Linked DNA regions of Homo sapiens: region 1 is linked to region 2. Evidence: promoter capture Hi-C in 16 types of primary human blood cells and fetal thymus (Javierre and others, 2016). All regions are on one chromosome and are shown on one strand. The core of a region is centred on a gene start or on the middle of the fragment in contact, and the rest is flanking DNA. Distances in the headings are between cores, read along the strand shown. Region 1 holds the start of BEST1 (bestrophin 1). Region 2 holds the start of SCGB1D4 (secretoglobin family 1D member 4).

Evidence for each region. The method cuts DNA at HindIII sites, captures the fragments that hold promoters and counts their contacts. A CHiCAGO score of 5 or more calls a contact.
Region 1: the fragment with the promoter of BEST1 here is called in contact with the fragment with the promoter of SCGB1D4 in region 2 in 12 of 17 cell types (activated CD4 T cells, erythroblasts, endothelial precursors and 9 more); the score reaches 9.1 in activated CD4 T cells.

Annotation. Positions count from the first base shown.
Region 1 is chr11:61,944,320-61,951,615 of GRCh38, reverse strand. It overlaps BEST1 (bestrophin 1), which reads right to left and starts at 1,265. Exons shown (of 11, transcript NM_004183.4): 1 at 1,189-1,265. It also overlaps a transcript of RAB3IL1 not described here. RefSeq lists a silencer at 5,404-5,567. The HindIII fragment of the contact is 17,311 bases long and covers 1-7,160 here.
Region 2 is chr11:62,294,809-62,301,721 of GRCh38, reverse strand. It overlaps SCGB1D4 (secretoglobin family 1D member 4), which reads left to right and starts at 2,647. Exons shown (of 3, transcript NM_206998.2): 1 at 2,647-2,766; 2 at 4,064-4,250; 3 at 5,303-5,441. The coding sequence starts at 2,712. The coding sequence ends at 5,312. The HindIII fragment of the contact is 1,500 bases long and covers 1,976-3,475 here.

The sequences.
Region 1 (7,296 bases), core at 16-2,515, 350 kb after region 2:
TTTGGAAGTAGAAACGCAAGAAAGTGAGCCCAGAGGCTGCCCTTTGCTTTGGCAGGGAAGACGTAGATAGGCGTGTGCATTGCCATGTGCCTTTAACTTTCTATAATCACTGGGCGCAGTGGCTCATGCCTATAATCCCAGCACTTTGGGAAGTCGAGGCAGGTGGATCACCTAAGGTCAGGAGTTCGAGACCAGCCTGGCCAACATGGTGAAACCCTGTCTCTACTAAAAATACAAAAAAATTATCCAGGCGTGGTGCGGGTGCCTGTAATCCCAGCTACTCAGGAGGCTGAGGCAGGAGAATCGCTTGAACCCAGGAGGTGGAGGTTGCAGTGAGCTGAGATCACGCCATTGCACTCCAGCCTGGGTAAGAAGAGCAAAACTCTGTCTAAAAATAAATAAATAAATAAATAAATAATACAATGACAAAGGCAGTAACAGCAGCAATGTCTACACACTAAGCTCAGGTCCTCTGGGCTAGGCAGTGTTCTCAGCCCATCTTGTTCGTTAGCTCCCAAGCTCTCTCAACCACCCTAGTGTGAGAAGTATGGAAGGGACCAGGCAGCCCTGTCCACCACCATATTCCCATTCCCATAATGGAACCTAGCTGGTAGAGATGCTCAAATGATGTTTACTGAATGGTGGCTCCAGGGCCTTTCCACCTGCTGATCTTCCTGCCTGGAGGAAGCTCTTCCTGAGATACCTGCATGGTTCCTTCCCACTCCAGGTTCCCTTTAGAAAGGATGTTCCCAACCATCCAACCTGGAAATAGAGCCCCACTGCCACCGGTGCTCTGTGTCTCCTCACCTTGCTTGATATTTCTAGAGAGCACTTATCACTACTTGAAATTATACAGGATATCTGCCTGTTTCCTGCCTGTTTCCTCCTCAGAATGGAAGCTCCTCTTGTGTTCTCGTAGAAGGCGCTCAATAAAAATTTACTGAAGCAGTGATTGATGCCCCCTCCATTCTTTCCCTGTGTGTTTTGCTGCAGCCACACTGGCTGGCTGTGCCTGATGCACACCAAGCTCATTCCCACCTCAGGGCATTTGCACAGACACACAGGTGCCCACACACCTGCGCATGTGCTGCCTGTGTGTGCATATCCCACACAAATACGCAAGATGGCCATCCAACCCTGAAGGCCTCAAAGCCCCAGCCCAGTCCACCTGGGGCACCTTGTACTCACAGGTGGGGTTCCAGGTGGGTCCGATGATCCCACAGAAGGTCTGGCGACTAGGCTGGTGGGACTCCCTGGGACTCTGTGGCCAGTGCCCCTGCCCACTCTTAGAGGCTGGCACTGCCCACGTGAGTGCTGAGCCGCCGTCACTTGACTCCCTAAGCCAGGACCTCCACAAAGGAGTCCTTGTCTTAGTCCCTTCTTGTAATCTGCTCAGAAGCAACGGCTAGCACAGCCTGGCCATGGCCCCTCTAATTTCTTCTTGGAGGGTGTTGGGCTGAGACCAGGGCTGGAATTTAGGGCAACACCCCCTCTACCATGGCCCTAAAATCCAGAGGCTAAAGGATCTGCTCCACCAGTGTTCTGACCCCTGAGGCCTTGCAGAGAGAGTTGGGGGTTAGGGGGCTGTGCTGAGCTTCAACTTCTGTGCCAGGAACTCTCCAGGAAGGAGGAGCCTCTGACTAGGCCCTGGGGTCTTTGACAGCCCTGTGGGCTATGGAAAGAATGAATACCGGGCTGCAGTCAACAGTCCTGGTTTCTGGTCCCAGCCTTGCCACCTGTGTGTGGTGACCCCGGGTAGGTTTCAGCTCCTCTCTCAGCCTCAGTGCCCTTATCTGAAAAGGATGGTGTTGCTTGGGAATTTCATCACCCTAGTAAAATGACAGAATTCTGCATATGCTGACGAGGAGCTCTGATTGGCTGCTGGTGACATCATACGTTATTCTGGCTGTGATTGGCTGGCAGGGCCCATCAGTAAGTTGCTTCAGAGAGATGGAAGGAGAAGCCTGCCGGGGCTGGTGGAGGGGGGTGAGTCTGGTGGGGGTTGACAGAACAGCCCTGGAGTTTATGCTGCTGGCTTCCAGCCAGCCAGTGCAATATGGGAATAAATGCCCAGATCCCCACGGGCAGCTGGTGAAAATCTCAGCATGTGATTCAATAAATTTTAATACATCAATCCATACTCAAGGGCTCTCCTAAGCTGTTGGAAGTGGTGGGTGTCTACCTACACACTCCTCTTGTATTGTTCAATGAAGAGAGCAGAGCTCTAGGCAGCAGTGGTTCTTGGTCTTTAGAGGCCGTAAGAATCGCCCAAATGTTTATTAAACGGGCAGTTTTCTGGATCTTTCTCCAGAGTCTGAGTCTGTGGCCTTAGGGATGTTGCATTTTAATCAAGCACTGCAGGGGATTATGAGATGTGTGGTTTTGGGACTAAACTTCCAGAAGCCCTGATTTTATAATATGACCTTGTGTCTTAAACCCACTCTCATCCTCCCTTTCCTGTCACCCTCTCTCTCTGAAATGTACTAAGCGTTAACTATGCTGAGATTGCAGGTGATTTTTCTACACACCACTTTTTTTTTCACTTTAAGTTCTGGGATACGTGTGCAGAATGTACAGGTTTGTTACATAGGTATACATGATGTGCAGGTTTGTTACATAGGTATACGTGTGCCATGGTGGTTTGCTGCACCTGTCAACCCATCATCTAGGTTTTAAGCCTTGCGTGCATTAGGTATTTGTCCTAATGCTCTCCCTCCCCTTGTCCCCCACCCCCACACACCATTTTTGCCTTTATATAATTATCTGCCTAGAAAAAAAAACACTATTTCGCAATGACCTTGAATACTTTTCTAATCATGGCAAACAATAAAGCTGTTGTTATTATAAGACTCTCTTTAGAGGCAGCCTTGTAGGAGTATTTACTGCCTCCCCGCTGCCCCATCGCTGTCCTCAACTGATATGGGGAAAGAAGCAGGTTCACTTCAGCCTCAGTCTCCTCATATGCAAAATGGGACAACGATGCCTACCTTGGCAGCCGAATGAGAATGATGGATGGGACATGTGTCCGTCAACTCTCCAAACCACTGGTGCCTGTGCCTGACCCCTACGAATTCTGATTTGATTGGTCTGGATGGACCCCAGGTGTTGGGATTGTTCAAGTTCTCCAGGTGATTCTGATTTTATGGCCTGTGCTGAGTCATTGCTTAATGGATTATTTCCCTATCCTGTATTCCCTTCCCAACCAACACATCCTGAAACTCAAGAGCTTTCCATTTAGAAGATGATAAATATATATTATATATATTTATATATTAACATATGTAAATATGTATTAATATGTCTATAATATTACAAATATATTTGTATGTACACATATATTTATACATATAAATATATAAGTAAATATATAACTATATTTTTGAGACAAGGTCACCCAGGCTGGAGTGCAATGGGTGTGATTTTGGCTCATTGCAACCTCCACTTCCCAGGCTCAAGCAATCCTCCCATCTCAGCCTCCCAAGTCGCTGGGACTACAGACGCACACCACCACACCCAGCTATTTTTTTTTTTTTTATAGAGATAGGGTCTCACTACATTACCCAGGCTGGTATTGAGCTCTAAGTTCAAGCAGTCCTCCCACCTAGGCCTCCCAAAGTGGTGGGATTACAGGAGTGAGCCGCCACACTCGGCCAATAAGTATGTTTTAACTAAAGTTAACACACATGCCTGGCACCATGCCTGGAACATTGATGCTCATTCTGTACTCTCTGAAGGAATAAATGAAAATCCTGCCTTTGTGGAGACAAGTTCTTGCCTTCCCTGTGGTGGCCACTAGAGAGCGTGCTTGACTAGCTGGCTCTGGCTGGGGAAGCCTGGTTCACTGGTCAGGATCAGTGCAGACCACGGAGCTGGCACTGCTTCATCTCCCTGACCCCGACCAGCAGCCATAGAGCCATGAGAGGGAGTTGGAGACACTAGAGTCCCTCCTCCCTGTTCCCTGAACCGCAGGCTCCTTGGCAATATCCCAGGAGTACCACCAGGACCATAGACAGTGCATGGCCAGTCTCCCTTCCCCTCCCAGAGGCCCCAGCATGTCCCCAGAGACATCCCATGAGCAGCTGCTCCTGGCCCTGCCCCAGAGCTGAGACAGGCACACCCTGGCACAAGTCATGGTCTCTCCTACTGGGTCTCAGCTATGAAAATGTCCCCAGTTAGCCAGGCACGGCTCAGGCACACAGCAAAGTCATGAGTGCTGATTGACCCAAGCCATGCCTGGAACAAGAGTCCCAGGATTGACCCCTGCAGAGATGGCACCCAACCCAGTCAAGGTCGCCCTCTTCTGCTTTCCGTTCCGCAAAGAAAATATTCGCCAAACCATTTCTCCTTCCAGAACTGAGCCTAATCTGATTCCTGCCTGTACGTATTCATAGTCAAAAAATTTGGAAACACTTAAATAACAACTCTAACACAGAATGGCAAGGCCTAAGATCTGTGCCAAGTGCACAGAGGTCAGGGAAATTTTTACAGACAATGGGGCATTTCGGTTGGGTCTTGAAGCATGAGTAGGAGTTCATGGAGCTGAGAAGAATGGAAGAGCATTACACATCAGGGGAACAACCTACGGAAAGTCATAGAGCTATTCCTGAAGGATGATTCAGTATCGCATGTTTATCCACATTTTACAAAGGAGGACACTGAAGCTCAAGGCCTGCCTTGTCCAAGGTCACACAGCTATAAATGGCTTGAGACTAGGATCTAGGTCTTTTGATTTTGGATCCTGAGCCCTTTCCCACTATCAGCTCTACAGTAAAGGTCAGTTTCTGAGAGGTAGAGTCTTACCTGCTAGGGTAGTGGTCTCTCTTGGGGTTGAAGGGAGGTCCAAAGGATGGGGCCTGCATGAAAGATACTTTTTTTTTTTTTTTGAGACGGAGTCTCGCTTTGTTACCCAGGCTGGAGTGCAGTGGCATGATCTTGGCTCACTGCAACATCTGCCTCCTGGGTTCAAGTGATTTCCGGCTAAGTATTGTATTTTTAGTAGAGATGGGGTTTCACCATGTTGGCCAGGTTGGTCTTGAACTCCTGACCTCAAGTAATTCACCCGCCTCGGCCTCCCAAAGTGCTAGGATTGCAGGCATGAGCCACTGTGCCTGGCCGCATGGAAGAAACTTTGACTGCAGCAGATTCCAAGCTCTCGAGCTCCCCAGCAGAGAGCCATCTCTTGGGGCAGCAGGGCAGAGCTGGGGAGATGCGCGGGGGTGCCAGACACAGAATGCTATGGCCTTCTCATCTAGAATTACCATAGCAACAGGAGCATCACAGAGGGCCTGCCTCGGTGCCCTTCTAGGCCCTGCCTCAGCTGGGCAGGAAGAAGGAGACCCAGCTTGGCTGGGGGCAGTAGGCAGGGGGCCCCGGGGTAAGTCAGCCAGGCCTGGATGCTGCCTCCAGGCTTTATGTGGGACACCTGCCAGCCCACACCCCTCTCTTGGGCCAGTCACAGAACAAATAGGGCAGAGGCCAAGAAAGAAAAGGAGGGGGCTTGGCATAGCTGGACAGGGGTGCTGGGGGACACTGCCAGTCCAGGGCCCGGAAGCCAGACAGACAACAGCACCTCCACCCTGAGCTCAGGCAGCCCTGATCCCTGAAGGACGGAGTAAACTCAACATTCAAAGAGATAGAAACATAAGCCCTGGGCACCACAGAAAGACGACAGAAACCAGGAGAGGCTGGGATACACCTAGGTCCAACTTCATCAAACCCAGTCCTGCCCATGACAACGGAATAGCATGGAATAGACCAGAGCTGGACCAACTAGAGACACAAGGCAAGAGGATCCACTGTGCTGCGAGGTCCCCCATGGACTCTGCCAGGCTGCAGTCGGCCAGGTGAGGCACTGACCACTATCCACCTTCCACCCACCCCCACCCCTCCAGCTCAGAACTGGGGCTCGTGGCAGGTGGGTAGCGGAAAGGACATCATGGGTCAGGCTTCTCCTAGACAACTGTGCAGGGCCTGGATGCTGTCAAAGGTTCACACCCAGTGAGTAGCCTCAGTGTCTTCAGCTCAAATGGGCATGTTGAGTTTGACGTGCTGTGAAAGAATGGTAAGTTTCTAGTCCAGCTGCTCATTTTGCAGACAAAGAAACTGAGGCACAGAGAAGGAAAATGACTTGCCTGAAGTCACAGTAGGCCGCCTGTCTAGGTGAGTGCAGCAACTCCCCGCTGCCCCAGGATGCTCCTGCGGTTCGCTTCCACGGCGAGCACTGAATGCCGACCGACCGTGTTTAGCGCTGCGGTGGCCACTGTGAGAGGGAAAGAATAGTAGAAACAATCAGTTCTCCCCATCTTGACCACTTACCAGGTGTCAGGCAGTGCACTAAGCGCTCTTTAGAAATGTCATCTACTCATCAAAACAACCCCTGGGGAAGAGGAAGGGTCATCCATCTGTCAGGTGGATGGATGTTGGAGAGGACGGCACAAGGGTAGGCTAGATGAGGAGTAAGCCACATTGGCCCCTATCTGTCAGGTCAATGGGCTGACGGCAGGCTGCCTTAGCTGCCTTTCCCTGCCTCAGATGCAGACTGGCTGGGCTTCCACAGCTACAGCCTTCTCCACCCATGCTAGGGCTACCAGACTTAGCCAATAAAACTACAGGCCAGGCCAGGTGTGGTGGCTCCTACCTGTAATCCCAGCACTTTGGGAGGCTGAGGCGGGTGAATCACGGGAGGTCAGGAATTCAAGACCAGCCTGGCCAACATGGCAAAATCCCGTCTCTACTAAAAATACAAAGATAAGTAGCCAGGCATGGTGGCGCATGCCTGTAATCCCAGCTACTCGGGGAGGCTGAGGCAGGAGAATCACTTGAACCCGGGAGACAGAGGTTGCAGTGAGCCAAGATTGCACCATTGTACTCCAGCCTGGTTGACAAGAGCGAAACTCCGTGTCCAAAACAAAAACAAACATTAGATGACATCCTGGCAAAACAACTACAGGACAGTCAGGCAAATAAGAACTTCAGATAGAAAAGTGAATAATTTTTAGTGTAAATATGTCCCGGGGGAGGGGCCCGGGAGCATCGTCCTTTTTTCTGTGGTCCCTCTGCTTTGCTGATTTGCTTAATTGGTCCATTCCTTCCTGCTGCTGACTTCTAGAACCTGGCTTCTCAAACTGAGGTCTGGGGCCCAGTTACATCATTTGGAAGCTTGTTACCAATGCAGAATCTGCCCTGGTGCAGTGGCTCACACATACAATCCCTACATTTTGGGAGGCTGAGGTCGGATGATTGCTTGAGCCCAGGAGTTTGAGGCTGCAGTGAGCTATGATCACACCAGCTCAGAAC
Region 2 (6,913 bases), core at 1,398-3,897:
CTATCTAGTTATTACACACCGAAGCTCTCTCATAGTGTGAAGTAATTTGACACCCCCAAAACTCAAAATGGTAGATTACACAATACATAACAGAACAGAGCCTTTGATTTTGAGAAGTAACTGCTTTTAATTTTGGGGGTTTCATGAGGAAAACAGTTTTTTTTTTTTCCCCAAAATGGGGTCTGTGGTGCCTCCTCTGTTTTTCCCAAGGAGTCCCATGCTACCAGAAGTTATCTTAGGGCTTCTCATGCTTGCATTAAGAATGGTAAGATGAAAAATGGAGAAAAATAATTCAGTTGATTGAAAAGAAAAGAGCCTTTTTCCCAAAAAACAAGATTCAACAAGAGAAAAGCATAAAGACCTTTTCAATATACCTATAACTTGAACATATCCACTTTTAATTAAGCTGAGCACTTTTAAAGAAAATCCTTTTAAATTCCTTGTTACTTGAGATTGCTGCAAATGAGAGGTGCATGGTTCCAGCAGAGTCTATGAAGGGGAGTATTGAACAAGTCATCGGGGTCAGGCAACGATGTCCATGGATGGAAAGAATAAACTAAAATCTTGAGTCAATTGTGTAAAAAGGAGGGAGCCATAAAAAGCATCAATGATGAAAACAAAAAAACCCTGCATAGGTGTTAATCGTGGTAGGACTAATAAAAGTATACGCAAACAATCCTCTGTCAGAGATACACATGCTCCCCAATGGACTGTACAGATGACAAGGTGAATGTCAAGCCTGAGTGAGGATAAACTCTCATCCACAAAAAGGGTGGATGCTTCACAGACCTGTCTACTGCAAAAGAGGCCTCAGTCCTGAAGCCCATATTCATGGGTTTGCAGCCTCCAAGACCATGAGCTGGGTTTCCTTTTCCATTTATGTCAAAGAGAAATGGTGTATCTAGGTGTCCGTGTAGTTCTGCAAGTAGGTGATTTAGTGGATTTTGGCTGTGCTCTAAACTAGGAACTACTGGCAAACCATGACATATATGACAAATGGGACAAGATAATGGCAGTTTACATTGAGAACTACTATGTACCAGAACTTGGTATATTTTAAACACACACACACCCATGAACACACTCATTTGATCATCTATCAACCCAATGATGTAGGCACCATTAGTAGCCTACTTTGACAAATGAGAAAACTGGGGTTACATAAACTGAATAATTTTCCTAAGGTCCAGGAGCCCATAAATGAGGATCTGAACCCTCATAGCTGTAAACCTCACCACCAACCCTCCCCCTCCTTGGTGGCAGCAGGGCTGATTCAGGGACTCCGTCGTCATCCTGTGTGATGAAAGTGAGATCCACTGTTGCCCTCAGCTTGGACTCAACTAAATCTGTCAATGTGTCTTTGATGACAAAACCCGTAAGGTCCCCTTCCTTCTTAAAGGTTTTCCTGGCTGGATCTCAGCCCTGCTGTCTGTGAGAAACACCAGAGCAGTTTAAACAGTACAGAAAGGAGGGATTCACCCCAATGCTACTGAATCAAAATCGCCAGAGAGAGAAGCCTGTGGGGTCAGTATGTTTTAAAAGCTCCAAGTGATTTGACTACATAGCTGAGAATGGAAAGCTATGGCCTGGGCTGTGACTCCTCTCAAATGTAAGTTTATTTAAGAGAAAAATTTCTGGTGATTAAACTCACACCACATGAAGGCACGGCAATGGGAGGGAAGGCGGGTGTGTATTGCTTTGTCTGGGGGCTTCCTTCACTTTCCCTTAAAAATGGGATTGGCCCAGGCAGCACAGATAGGTTTGAAGTGGAAAACTTGAGCCTAGGGGTTAGGGGGAAGTGACCACCCACCCTGTTCCTCTGTCTCTTCCCTTCTATTATCTTCCCAGCCTAGAGCCCCACTGATGTATGATTGGCTCTGAACACTCCAAAAGCTCTTGAGAAAAAGAGTTAGGTTATTTAATCTTCAGATCAGCCCTAAGATAAGACGTGGGTGGCTACACATCACAGAAAGCTTGCTTTTTATAGATAGAAAATGTGAATCTTGGCCATATATATAACTGCACGTATAAACAAGATTCAGGTTTGGGAGTGAGGCAGGCTAGAGAACAGGTGCAGCAGATGTTTTTCCTCAGCATATCTTCTACAGGTGGGATGTATTCAACTATGTTTTCAGTACCTATGCAGTGAACATGGTGGTGATGGAAGGGGCTGAGGGGAAGGATTAGACTTTCCCAATGTGCAACTGAAACAAGCCTGCTTGTTGTCAGACATGCAGGGGGATCAAAGCAGGGTCTCCTTATGTCCCTGCTCTCCCATAAAGAGAACACAGCCTTCCAGCTTCCTGTGCCTTGTGAAGCCATAATTCACCTGTGCCCCTGCACTGCTACAAAGATAAAAAGAACTAATCAGCAAAAGCTCATAAGGAAATTGAGGATCCCAGGAACATTTCCAGATGTACCTGAACACTCACCTGGAGCACAGAGCAGAGTTCTCACAAGGCTGCTGTCTTGTGCTCCGCCCCACTCAGATGCAGAGATTCCTAAGGAGGTGACATTGATGGACGGCAGCAGCCCTGGCTTGGAAGGGCGGGCTGGGAGCCAGGCCTCATGACCTACCAGGTGCCCCGGTAGGTAGGACCAGCCAGGCTCCCTAGGTACAAATAGCCCTGGCCTCCATGACTACACAGGCTCCTGGAGTCGAATCCAAATCACTCATTGTGAAAGCTGAGCTCACAGCCGAATAAGCCACCATGAGGCTGTCAGTGTGTCTCCTGATGGTCTCGCTGGCCCTTTGCTGCTACCAGGGTGAGTACATCAGTCATGAGTCCAGCACCAGCCCCTGGGATGCACCCTCTTCTGAGCACAAGATCACCTATTTGTGCTTTGGGTTGGGGTCTGCACAAAACCAAACAAAATTCCAAACCCTTTTCTGTGCTTGTTGAATAAGATTCATAAAGGTTAGAGCTATTTCTTCTTTCTTCTTCCTTTTTTTTTTTTTTTTTTTGAGAAGTTTTGCTCTTGTTGCCCAGGCTGGAGTGCAGTGGCATGATCTTGGCTCACTGCAACCTCTGCCTCCGGGGTTCAAGTGATTCTCCTGCCTCAGCCTTCCTGAGCAGCTGGGATTACAGGCATGGGCCACCACAGCTGGCTAATTTTGTATTTTTAGTAGAGATGGGGTTTCTCCATGTTGGTCAGGCTGGTCTCGAACTCCCGACCTCAGATGATCTGCCCGCCTCGGCCTCCTAAAGTGCTGGGATAACAGGCATGAGCTACTGCGCCTGGCTGCTTAGAGCTATTTCTTCTAATCCCCAGTATCTAAGAAGTTTTATAGAAAAATCAGTTCAGGCAAATGTTAGGAATTCTTCTGCCTGAGCTTCACTTCTGAATGGGATCTGTGTCAGATGATGTAATGTGAGGTCTGGGGTGAACCTGGGCTTCGACACTTCCCACCCCTTGATCTTGGGCACAATGCTCACCCTCCTTGAGCCTCCTCTTATCACTGGTGGTTAAAGCTTCTGCCAGGAGTGGCTATGAGAATGAAGTAAGGTTATGGTTGTCAAGAGTCAAGCTGTGGGCCAGGCATGGTGTCTCATTCCTGTAATCTTAGCACTTTGGGAGGCCACAGTGGGCAGATCACTTGAGCTCAGGAGTTCAGCACCAGCCTGGGCAACATGGCGAAACCCCATCTCTACAAAAAAAAAAAACAAAACAAAACACACACACACACACACACACACACACACACACACAAAAGCGGGCATGGTGGCAGGCACTGGTAGTCTCAGCTACTTTGGGGGCTGAGGGAGGATCGCTTGAGCCCAAGACATTCAGGCTGCAGTGAGCCGAGATTGTGCCACTGCATTCCAGTCTGGGTGAACCTATCTCAAAAAAAAGAAAAAGAAGTCTAGCTGAGGATATGAAGCTCTTCCCTTTGTTGTGTGACCCGGAGAAAGTCACACCTGGAGTTTCTGGTATTGTCATCAGCACAATAATGGTATAGAAACATAGAACCCAGGGGATCCTGTCTGGTGTAACCTCAGGGAGCCATGAGAGAAAAATCGACTTTCCTAACATCAACAATATTTTTATTTTTGTGCTGCAGCCCATGCTCTTGTCTGCCCAGCTGTTGCTTCTGAGATCACAGTCTTCTTATTCTTAAGTGACGCTGCGGTAAACCTCCAAGTTGCCAAACTTAATCCACCTCCAGAAGCTCTTGCAGCCAAGTTGGAAGTGAAGCACTGCACCGATCAGATATCTTTTAAGAAACGACTCTCATTGAAAAAGTCCTGGTAATTTCTTTCTCCTTTATGCAGAGGCAGAATTCAACTCAGCTGCACACAGCCTCCTGCATGTTTCTTGTCAGGTCACCTGCCTGGATGCTGTGTCCCCAGAGTGTGCTGAGGACATGGGGAGTGAGCTAGGGCCAAGGCAGGGATGGTGAAGGGCCAAGCACGGCCGCCTCCCTGCTGGGATCTTTCCTGAGGTCAACCTACCCTCACGCAGTGGACACGGTCACTATGGGATGTCCCAGGGAGTGTGGGAGATTTGAACAGGGAGAGGAGGCTTGAGGGGACCTAGAGCTGGGCCTCCCACAGACAGGGTGCTGGTGAACTGGGCTCCTGTGCAGCTTCTGCAGAGCCAGGAGCCCCTTGCAGCTCCTCAGGGCCCACTATCCACTCCTCATCCATGACACTCTCCTGACCACAGCCAGTGGGCCAAGACTTTTTCGCTGCTCTACCTACTGCAACGCCACACAAGTGGGATGTTCTCACTATGTCTTTCTCAAGAAATCAGAGATTCCAGGGCCCTCTCAGCCTGGCTGCCTCTGGATTGTTGTCCTGAGGTTTGGCTGCAAATACCCATAGAAGCTGCAGGGTCAGGGCTGATAAGACCCCTGGCCGTTAGGCAGAATTCTCCCATGGGAAGACTGGAGTCTCCTGGAAGGTGTGTTTCCCAGAAGCCCTCCCTGCCCTGCCTGGCTTCAGAGCCCTGGGTCCCCCATTACAGGGATCAGGAGACTCCACAGACCTGGGACAGCCCAGACAACAACCTCTTGCTGCACTGTCAACCCCTCCCCTCCTCCTCCATGAAAACCCTGGGCCTAACTCCTGGGTCTTCCCAGGTCTATTGGTCTGGTGGGGAAAGGCTGCTTTCTCACCAGAATGGGTGTTGTAAGGCCACCAGGTCTAGGCCTCAGTTTCCCAAACTGAATTCTTGCCTCTGCCTTTCCAATTGCCATTGGGGCAAAATCCCATTGGCCTCTTTGATGTTAGCCTATCATCACCAGCAGCAGCATGACTGACCTCACCTTTCTTTCTTTCTTTCTTTTTTTTGATTTCAGGTGGAAATAGTGAAAAAATGTGGTGTGTGACATGTAAAAATGCTCAACCTGGTTTCCAAAGTCTTTCAACGACACCCTGATCTTCACTAAAAATTGTAAAGGTTTCAACACGTTGCTTTAATAAATCACTTGCCCTGCACATCTCCACTGGTCTTGTTATGATCCTGCAGTCTCGGGCCTTGAATCGAGGGTGGTTTCCATAGGGGAGTGGACTTTTGCTGTGGCTGATAATCAACTCTAGAGTAACCAGCATTCTGTTACTAATGGGGCCTGAATGCAAGCATCCCAGAAGGAAATATTTGCAGAAATCATCCTGGATTCCTTACAGATTTCCCATCCTGCGTTCGCGAATGAAAACCATGGCAATAGAAAACAGCAATTACAGTGGTCCTGCTGGTCTTGGACTGAGGGATCTCCCAGCCTGCCTTGGTGTCCAGGCACGTGGTTCCCACTAGCAGCAGCCCTAGCCCTAGTTTGTTGTCCCCTCAGATGCACAGCCAGCCTGCTTGGTGCTCTCTCTGCACCAAGTCATGTCCAGTATACTTTATTTTCCATTTATCACAATTTGAGGGCATCTCCAGGTTTCAACCTGGAGTTCACATTGTTTTACTCCCCACACTCAGAGCACTCCTCAGTGTCCGCCTCACTCACCAGCACCTGAGGCAAATGCTTCCTTCCTCAAGCTCTCTCAAGAGCTCCAGAGACCAGCACCCCTTGCCAACTGGACAGCTCCCAGTGCACACTCCACAGTCATTTCAGGAGCAGGATGTAAAACTGAGCACAGGGTCTGCCCCCAGCCTGCTCTCCCTTCCATAAGCCCATCCAGGCTAATGCACCCAACCTAGCAAGCCCCCTGACCAGGACATAGGGAGACGCCACAGGTTCCTGGCTTGGTGTCCTGTGGCTGCTGCAAGAAACCTCCGAAAGCTTGGTGGCTTAAAACAACGGATTCTCTTGTACCTCTGAAGGTCAGAAGCCCAACACTGGTATCACTGTGGGGAGGTCAGGGGGCAGCAGGGCTCTGTTCCTTCTGGGGGCTCTCCGGGCGAGTTCACTAAGGGCTGCTGACCATGCTGGTCCTGTGGCCACATCACTCCAACCTCTGCCTCCATGATACATTCCCATCTCCTTTCCTTTCCGTGTCAAATCCCTCTCTGACTTTTAATTACAAAATACAGAGGTTGGGGTTAGGAAGCACCAGATTATTCAGAATAATGTCCCTATCTCAAGATCCTTAACTGAATCATGTCTACATAATGCTTTTTCATCTTGCAATGGGCCATTCACAGATTCCAGGGATTAGAATGTGTATATCTTTTGGGAGATGGAGGCATAAATCAGCCAACTACAGCTTCCCTCCCTCCTGACTCCTCACCGTACCCTAAGTTCTGTTTACTCCATGGCCACAGTGTCACCTCCACGAGTCCCTTCCTTTCCATCACACAGCCACCTAACAGTCTTATCCGAGTCCTTCCAAACTCAACTCAGATTAATGTCTCCTAAATTGTCTCCCAGCCTCTGTGAGCCCTTCCTGTGATAAACCCTCCTTGTTCATGCCAATGCGAGCCTCCCAAAACTGAAACATGGTCCTATCCTCCAACAACCCTAAAT